Linked DNA regions of Homo sapiens: all the other regions are linked to region 2. The links are contacts of gene promoters, found by promoter capture Hi-C in blood cells and fetal thymus (Javierre and others, 2016). All regions are on one chromosome and are shown on one strand. The core of a region is centred on a gene start or on the middle of the fragment in contact, and the rest is flanking DNA. Distances in the headings are between cores, read along the strand shown. Region 1 overlaps SAA2-SAA4 (SAA2-SAA4 readthrough). Region 2 holds the start of LDHC (lactate dehydrogenase C). Region 3 holds the start of UEVLD (UEV and lactate/malate dehyrogenase domains).

Evidence for each region. The method cuts DNA at HindIII sites, captures the fragments that hold promoters and counts their contacts. A CHiCAGO score of 5 or more calls a contact.
Region 1: a contact is called between a fragment that was not itself captured here and the fragment with the promoter of LDHC in region 2, in 2 of 17 cell types (monocytes and M2 macrophages). The highest score is 5.5, in monocytes.
Region 3: the fragment with the promoter of UEVLD here is called in contact with the fragment with the promoter of LDHC in region 2 in 1 of 17 cell types (neutrophils); the score reaches 5.0 in neutrophils.

What each region holds. Positions count from the first base shown.
Region 1 is chr11:18,241,378-18,244,077 of GRCh38, reverse strand. The region is part of intron 3 of SAA2-SAA4 (SAA2-SAA4 readthrough); the gene reads left to right. It also overlaps a transcript of SAA2 not described here. Among named protein-coding and RNA genes, the nearest start is that of SAA4, 5.9 kb to the right of the region's middle. RefSeq lists a silencer at 1-276 and an enhancer at 2-296. The HindIII fragment of the contact is 1,216 bases long and covers 784-1,999 here.
Region 2 is chr11:18,411,046-18,413,745 of GRCh38, reverse strand. LDHC (lactate dehydrogenase C) reads right to left here and starts at 1,428. Exons shown (of 8, transcript NM_017448.5): 1 at 1,338-1,428; 2 at 903-1,037. The coding sequence starts at 1,028. The HindIII fragment of the contact is 7,298 bases long and covers 1-2,700 here.
Region 3 is chr11:18,587,457-18,590,156 of GRCh38, reverse strand. UEVLD (UEV and lactate/malate dehyrogenase domains) reads left to right here and starts at 1,423. Exons shown (of 12, transcript NM_001040697.4): 1 at 1,423-1,544. The coding sequence starts at 1,503. LOC112268073 (a long non-coding RNA gene) reads left to right here. Exons shown (of 4, transcript XR_002957242.2): 4 at 1-64. RefSeq lists enhancers at 1,306-1,355, 1,261-1,555, 1,616-1,675, 1,716-1,865, 2,266-2,375. The HindIII fragment of the contact is 11,919 bases long and covers 1-2,700 here.

The sequences.
Region 1 (2,700 bases), core at 142-2,641, 170 kb after region 2:
CCACTCAGATCTCTGGGGCAAGTGCCACTGGTTGTCCTGTACAGGAGAAGAGTACTGCAGGAGCTGAAAGGAAGCAAAGCACAAAAGAACAGGAAAAGATGTCTTCATCTCCTGCTTGGCCCTCTAGCGCCCTCTATGGGTGAAGATTAACATCATGCCCAACTGGCAAAGGAGAAATGTTCACAGGGTCCAGCTCCAGCATCACAAATAGGACAAAGGGGTGGGTGTGGAGCTGAAAATAAAGAAACTGATAACTGGCATACCCCTTTTCTCTGAAAAAGGATTGAGGAGGACTCCTAAGGTGAGAAGACTAGTTATAAAATTATATTTACAGAGTAAAGACAAATTTATTTGTCAAGGAGGAAGAAAATGTATGGATATAAAGTAGAACTATTTACAACAGAACTTTCTCATACAGTTCTCATCAAAAGACACTAATAGAAGTGTAGGTATAGGAGGTATAGGAGGTTTGAGTCTGAGTCTCAAAGATGTGCCAATGCCAAAACAAGGCAAGGGCAAGATAAATAAGATGGAGAGAGGCGTGGAAGATTGGCTCATGGGAGCAGACTCAATGCACTGTTGAGATTAGTGTTCAGTCTAGTAAAGTCTGAGTTGACCCCAAGTTGTAAAAAAAGACTGTAATGCTATTATTACAATAGCAATTGTAAATGCTTACAATTAGATTTCTGTCACAAGTACTGAAGTTGTAGATTTTGGGGGGCAGGAGGGAGAGAAAGGGAGGATGAGAGAAAGAATGGCTTTCAAAGTCAAATAAAGCAAGCTTTCAAAGTCTAGTCTTTGTAGATATTCAAAACTTTGCAATCAACATATTATTACTAGAAATAATTAACTGAAGCAACATTTGGATACAGAAATTCATTCATCCGTCTGTAAAGGACCAAATCACTCCCCTTCTTGAAATCTATAATTTGAAAAAAAATTTAATTCAATATAGTCCATAGGTTCAGAGGAAGAAAAAGTATAAAAAAAACAAGAAAAAAATTTTTAAATCGAAATTTGTATCCAAGGAAAAAGGTGCTTGGTTTACCCAGGAATTTATAATTTGTAAAGTCACACCTAATACCTATGCTCTGGCACACCCAAATACCTTTTATTAATTACTTGGTTTTCCTCAGTAAGAATTAACATGCTTCTCTCTGTTAGAAAAGTTTGAGAAAGGGAAATTGCATTGCTCTTTGTTATAGTTGTGTTTTGTTTTGTTTCGTTATTTGAGACAGCATCTCCCTCTTTCATCCAGGCTGAAGTGCCATGGCATGATCATGGCTCACTGCAACCTCGACCTCCCGGGGCTCAAGAGATCCTCCCACTTCAGCCTCTTGAATAACTGGGACTGCAGATGTGCGCCATGACACTTGCCTAATTTTTATATTTTTTGTAGAGATGGGGTTTCGCCGTGTCACCCAGGCTGGTCTTGAACTCCTGGGCTCAAGTGATCTGCCTGCCTCAGCCTCCCAAAGTGCTGGGATTACAGGCATGAGTCACTGAGCCCAGCCTACTGTTATATTTATTTTTGTGTCGGTTTGAGGCTGCCCAGATTCACATTGTTTCTGGGGTCGTCTGTGAGGGTGTTTCCAGAGGAGATTAACATTTGAATTGGACTTAATAAAGTAGATTGCTATTCTCAATGCAACTGGGCATCACCCAATCTGTTGAAGGCTTGAATAGAACAAAAATAGAGGAAGGACAGATTTGCCTCCCTTTTCCCCTGCCTCACTGCTTGAGTTGGACATCTCCTCTCATCTTCTCTTGCCCTCAAATTGGATTTACGTGATCAGTTGCTCTGGTTCTCAGGCCTTTGAACTCAGACTGAATTACACTTTCCTGAGTTTCTAGCTTGCAGAGGGCAGATCGTGGGACTTCTCAGCCCCAATTATCTTGTGAGCCAATTCCTTACAATAAATAAATACATACATACATACACAAATAAATTATTTGTCCTGTGTCTCTCAAGAACCCTGACTAATAGGGTATCCAAGCTTTTCAGTCTTATCTCCTATGACTAATTAATGTGCCTCATGCTACATGCAAATTGAGCTGCTTGTTATTTTTAAACATGTCATTGAATTAGGAATTATTTCAAACGTTCAGAAATGTGCTTCCATGTGTTCATTCAGCATTTATTATTGTTATTTAAAATATTCATTCATTTATTTATTTATAGATTTAGGGGGTACAAGTACAGATTTGTTACACTGATAGATTGCATAATGGTGAAATCTGGGTTCTTAGTGTAACCATCACCCAAGTAGAGTTCATTGTACCTGTCAGGTAATTTCTCAATCCTCGGCCCCCTTCTGCCCTCCATCTTTCTGAGTCTCCAGTGTCCATTATTCCACTTTCTATGTCCATGTGTACACATTATTTAGCTCCCATTTATAAGTGCGAAAATGTGATATTTGACTTTCTGGGTTATTTCACTTAAGATAATGGCCTCTAGTTCTATCTATGTTGCAGCAAAAGATACGATTTCATTCTTTTTAATGGCTGAATAGTATTCTATGGTGTATATATGTGTATACAGACATACACACACACCCCTCCAATCATTCGTTGATTAACCTAAGACACTTAGGTTAATCCCATATTTTTGCTACTGTGAATAATAGTGTTGTGATAAATACATGCATTCAGGTATATTTTTTATATAATGATCTATTTTCCTTTGGGTAGTACCCAGTA
Region 2 (2,700 bases), core at 179-2,678:
CTCATGCCTGTAATCCCAGCACTTTGGGAGGCTGAGGCAGGCGGATCACGAGGTCAAGAAATCAAGGCCATCCTGGCCAACATGATGAAACCCCGTCTCTACTAAAAATATAAAAATTAGCTGGGCGTGGTGGCACATGCCTGTAGTCCCAGCTACTCAGGAGGCTGAGGCAGGAGAACTGCTTGAACCCGGGAGGCAAAGGTTGCCGGGAGCCGAGATCCTGCCGCTGCACTCCAGCCTGGCAACAGAGCGAGACTCCGTCTCAAAAAAAAAAAAAAAAAAAAAAGAGAGAACAATAAACACTGGGGACTCCAAAAGCAGAGAGGGAGGAGGGCACAAGGGTTAAAAACAATACCTATTGGCAGCCAGGTGTGGTGGCTCATGCCTGTAATCCCAGTACTCTGGGAGGCCGAGGCAGGCGGATCACTTGAGGTCAGGAGTTCGAAACCAGCCTGGCCAACATGGAGAAACCCCATCTCTACTAAAAATATAAAAAATTAGCCAGGCCTGGTGGTGCATGCCTGTGGCCCCAGTTATTCAAGAGGCTGAGGCAGGAGAATCGCTTGATCCCGGGAGGTGGAGGTTGCAGTGGGCCAAGATCGCGCCACTGCACTCCAACCTGGGTAACAGACAAATCCTGTCTCAAAAAAAGAAAAAGAAAAGGAAAGTCAGAAAAAAAAAGAAAGGAAAAGAAAGAAGAAGTTTAAAAAAAAAGGAAAAGAAAGAGAGAAAGAAAAAGGAAGGAAGGAAGGAAGGAAGGGAGGGAGGGAGGGAGGGAGGAAAGGTCAAAGGATACATAATTGCTTTCAAGGGATTAACCTTGCAACCCTGAATACATCGACATATACAACACTCTGAAGTGCTCACTTGATTTTCAGCCACAGGATGGGCTTCTCACTCACCTTCAGTAAGATACTAATAGCACAAGCCATGCCTACGGCACCAGTTCCAACAATAGTAATTTTACACTGGGAGTTTTCATCATCCTCAATTAGCTTCTCAATTAGCTGCTCCTTGACAGTTGACATTTGGAGAACCTGATAGGGATAATGCAATTTCATTGGATTAACCACACTGAACATCTAAGAAACTACCTCTTCAGTTTGCAGAATGTTGGAGCCGGGGATGGGGGGAAGCCAAAGAAAGAATTTCCTGGTCAAAGGATGCGGGGAGGGTAAAGCAAGGCCCAGTCTACCAGGCAATGGGAGGGCTGGGGCACCAGCGGGCTTTTGGATTTCTCCCTGCCCCCAGCCACCACTTTCACCCCAGCACCACACGCTCACAAATGCTTTGCTTGGCGCAATCAGTACAGATGACCCACAGGGACAAAGCACCACCTTTGAAGGAAGGCACAGAAGTGACACCAGAAAAATACACCAACGACAGTTGAGGCGCTAAGCCCGTCGACGGTTGCCCTCCGTGCGACTCGAGACACGCACGTTCCCCCGCTCGGCTCTTATGCGTCAGCACGCAAGCTCCGCCCCCCGCCGGCCCAGGCGCGGGCATGGGGCGTCTTTTCTGCCCTGGAGCGCAGTGTGGGTGGCGGCGGTCCAGATCACCGAAATGCTGATGGGAAGAATTCTAGACTGGCCCAAAGAGTGTGCAAGACGGGGATATCCATGCATTGTTTGCAGGATTTTAAAAAATTATTAACTTCTGTAACTTCAGGACTGAGTGCTGAAATAAAGTTAGAATTTCTCTTGAGAGAACAGAGGGTGGTAATGAAACGCAAAGACGCGAAGGATGCTTTCAATTTACAGCAAGAAATTGTTAATATTTATAACTCATGGCCGGACGCGGTGGCTCACACCTGTAATCCCAGCACTTTGGGAGTCCGAGGCAGGTGGATCACCTGAGGTCAGGAGTTTGAGAACAGCCTGGCCAACATGGCGAAACCCCGTCTCTACTAAAAATATAAAATTAGTCGGGCATGGTGGTGCATGCCTGTAGTCCCAGCTACTTGGGAGGCTGAGGCAGGAGAATCGCTTGAACCCAGGAGGCGGAGGTTGCAGTGAGCCAAGATCGCGCCACTGCACTCCAGACTGGGCAACAAGAGAGAAACTCCATCTCAAAAAAAATTTACATATATATTTTTTTTTTTGTGAGAGAGATATATATCTCACAGAAGGGGACACAACCTACTCCATCTTTTGTAGAGTATTTGCATTTGAACCTTTTTCAAAATCCAAAATATAATTTATTTTTCTTATAATAGCCTGTAGTGTTGTTATTGTTGTTGTTTTTGAGACAGAGTCTCACTCTGTCGCCCAGGCTGGAGTGCAGTGGCACAATCTCAGTTCACTGCAACCTCCGCCGCCTGGGTTCAAGCAATTCTCCTGCCTCAGCCTCCCAAGTAACTGGGACTACAGGCGTGCGCCACCACGCCCGGCTAATTTTTGTATTTTTAGTAGAGATGGGGTTTCACCATGTTGGTCAGAATGGTCTCCAACTCCTGACCTAGTGATCCGCCCTCCCAAAGTGTTGGGATTACAGGCGTGAGCCACCGTGCTGAGCCACCGTGCCCAGCCGCCGGGCAAATTTTTTTGTATTTTTTTGTATTTCACCTTGCTGGCCAGGCTGGTCTCGAACTCTTGACCTCAAGTGATCCACCCACCTCGGCCTCCCAAAGTGCTGGGATTACAGGCGTGAACCACCGCACCCAGTCAGTATTTGTTTTCAATATGGTTCAGATTATGCAAT
Region 3 (2,700 bases), core at 174-2,673, 180 kb before region 2:
AAGAGAATTGCTGGTCCCCAACCCCAGAGCCTGTGATTGAATAAAGCTGGGGTTGAGGTCTTAGCATCTGCATTTCTAACAACTCCCAGCACCTGAGGCTGCAGATCTGGGGCTCACACTAGAAGACTCACTTCTCTAAACCACTTGTTCCCCCGTCTTATTTCCCTGACTTAGCCTCCTTGTCTCCACTCCCATCTTACTTCATTCTACTCCAGCCACACTGGCCTCCTTGCTGTGTTGAGCCTCCCTGGGCACATGCCTTAGGCTACTGCTTTGTCTGCACTCGGATTCGTAACACTTACTCCCTCACCCCTCAGTGAGACCTACCCCAATCTCCCTACCCTTTTCAGAATTTATTCTCCACAACACGTAATCAACCTTCTGACATGCTGAATAATTTACTTATTACATTTATTGTTTTGCTCTCTCTCTGCTAATAAAGGAATGACACCCTTAAGACATCAGCTATCTGAGTGTATTTTGTTCACGGCTGTATCCTGAGACCTGGAAAAATAGCTGGCAAGTAGTAGATGCTCAACAAAAACTTTCTGAATGAATGTTCCTTCCAGCTTTTCAGCTTCTTCTCCTGAGTCAGGGCAGCACTCCCTTCAGATCTTCCTATAAATACAATCTCTCTCCTATATGTCCAACCTCTTGACAATTACAATATCCAGCTCCTGGGACTTTTCGCTTCAGTGGCTCAGGCCAGGGATACAGGGCAGGTAAGTCAGCCATGGGCCAAGGAGATCAAACAACGCCAGAAAATTACTGTATCCTGCATCTCTTCTTCACCCACCTTCTCCAGATGACCTTATCCACCCATCTCCCTCCTCTCTTGTTTTCCAACTATTTGTTCACCTGGATTTCTCCTCTCTTTGACCACCAACATTGTTATGGCACCCCTAAAAAAAATAAAAAAAGCAACCACTCTCCCCGTGCTAAGCCACCCTCATGCTGGGGCTGTCCTATCTCCGCTTCTCCGGCAAGGCTCCTCCTGACTTTGTTTTTCCTTTCTACTCCCTGAAATTTTGCTTCTGAAGTTCCATTACCGCCTCCTTCCTAAATTCAACTGCAATTTTCGGTCTTGCTCTTTCCTGATACACTGTGGAATTTAATACATCTGTCTGGAAACTCTTCAAGAACACCGCGTGTTGCCTCTACCTCCTTTAGTGCTTCTACTCCGGTCCTTCCTAGTCTTCTCTTCATAAGTGTCCCCAAGTTTCCTTCCAGGAAGATGGGTCGTGGTTTCCTTGACGCCAATGCGTTTCTGGCCGTGCCCTCGTCACTTGCCCACTCCGGGGTCACGAAGGAGAGGCCCCGGATTCCGGGCGCAGCCGCGGCTGAGCCCGGGGCGTTGAATGCGGGTGGAATTTCCAGTCTGGGAAGGGGCGGGGCCTTGGACCGCCGGGAAGTTTGGTCCTCAGCGGCTTCCGTCCTGCAGCAAGTCCGGAAGAAGGTCCGGGGGCTGGAGTCCTGGGACCTAGCTCGGGACCGGCCTGGAGATGGAGTTCGACTGCGAGGGCCTGAGACGGCTGCTTGGCAAGGTGCGGGCAGTCCGCTGGGCCAGTTTGGGTCCTCAGGGTCTTGCGGGGGGTGCCTCTGCCTTTGGCCAGGTTGCCTCCGTTTTGCGTTTCCCGGCTTGTAGTGGGGCTTGGAGCCGGGGCGGCTGGTCTGAAACCGGCTATGGGGCGCGGCCCCAGGGAGGCTGAGGGGACCTGGATTCTGATTTCTCCCGCAACTCTGAGGTTTCCCAACCTCCACCTGGTGCGAGCCCTCCTCATACCCCCAGCTTCACTGACCTCAAACAGCTCCCAGCACACGCCTAACCACGCCTTTCTCTCTTTCTCTCTGCTGAAATGGTCTGCCTTTTTTTTCTTTTTTCTTGAATTGCAAAGCTCATCCTTTGTAAGACCCAACTCAGTCACTCCCTGTAAGATTGAATCAACCCTTCTGTTTTGAAAGATATCGATTATCACATTGTGGAGTAATTATGTATTTACAAACCGTAATCTTGCTGTGAGCCCCTTTGACTGCAGACATTGTGCTTTTGTATTCCCTTCCTCTAGCCACTATGTTTGACAACACCATAGGTACTAAGTAACTGTGCAGTGAATGAAAGACCTGAGTAGATTTAGAGATGAAGACAGAGCTTGAAGGCCCTGGAGAGATCTTAATGTTGGAAGGCTGGGGAGTAGGCGGGCCGACCTAGAAATCTGACCTATATTTCTGAGACCTGACTAGCCTGAGTTTCCGGTGTACAATCTGAGGGAATCCCCGCCAATTTTCTAGTTAAGAAGACTAGTTTTCACCAGTTTCCTAGTTAAGGTGGTTTTTTGTTTTTTGTGTTTTTTTTTTTGACAGAGTCTTGCTCTGTCCCCCAGGCTGGAGTGCAGTGGTGCGATCTAGGCTCACTGCAACCTCCACCTCCCGGGTTCAAGCCGATTCTCGTGCCTCAGCCTCCCAAGTAGCTGGGACTACAGGCGCGTGCCACCATGCCTGGCTAATTTTTGTATTTTAGTAGAGATGGGTTTTCACCATGTTGGCCAGTCTGGTCTCGAACTCTTGACCTCAAGTGATCCACTCGCCTGAGCCTCCCAAAGTGGTGGAATTACAGGTATGAACCACCGCACCCGGCCTTAAATAATTCTTAATGCTTCTTAAGACTTCCTAATGCAGAAACCATAGTTTATGCCATTTTTG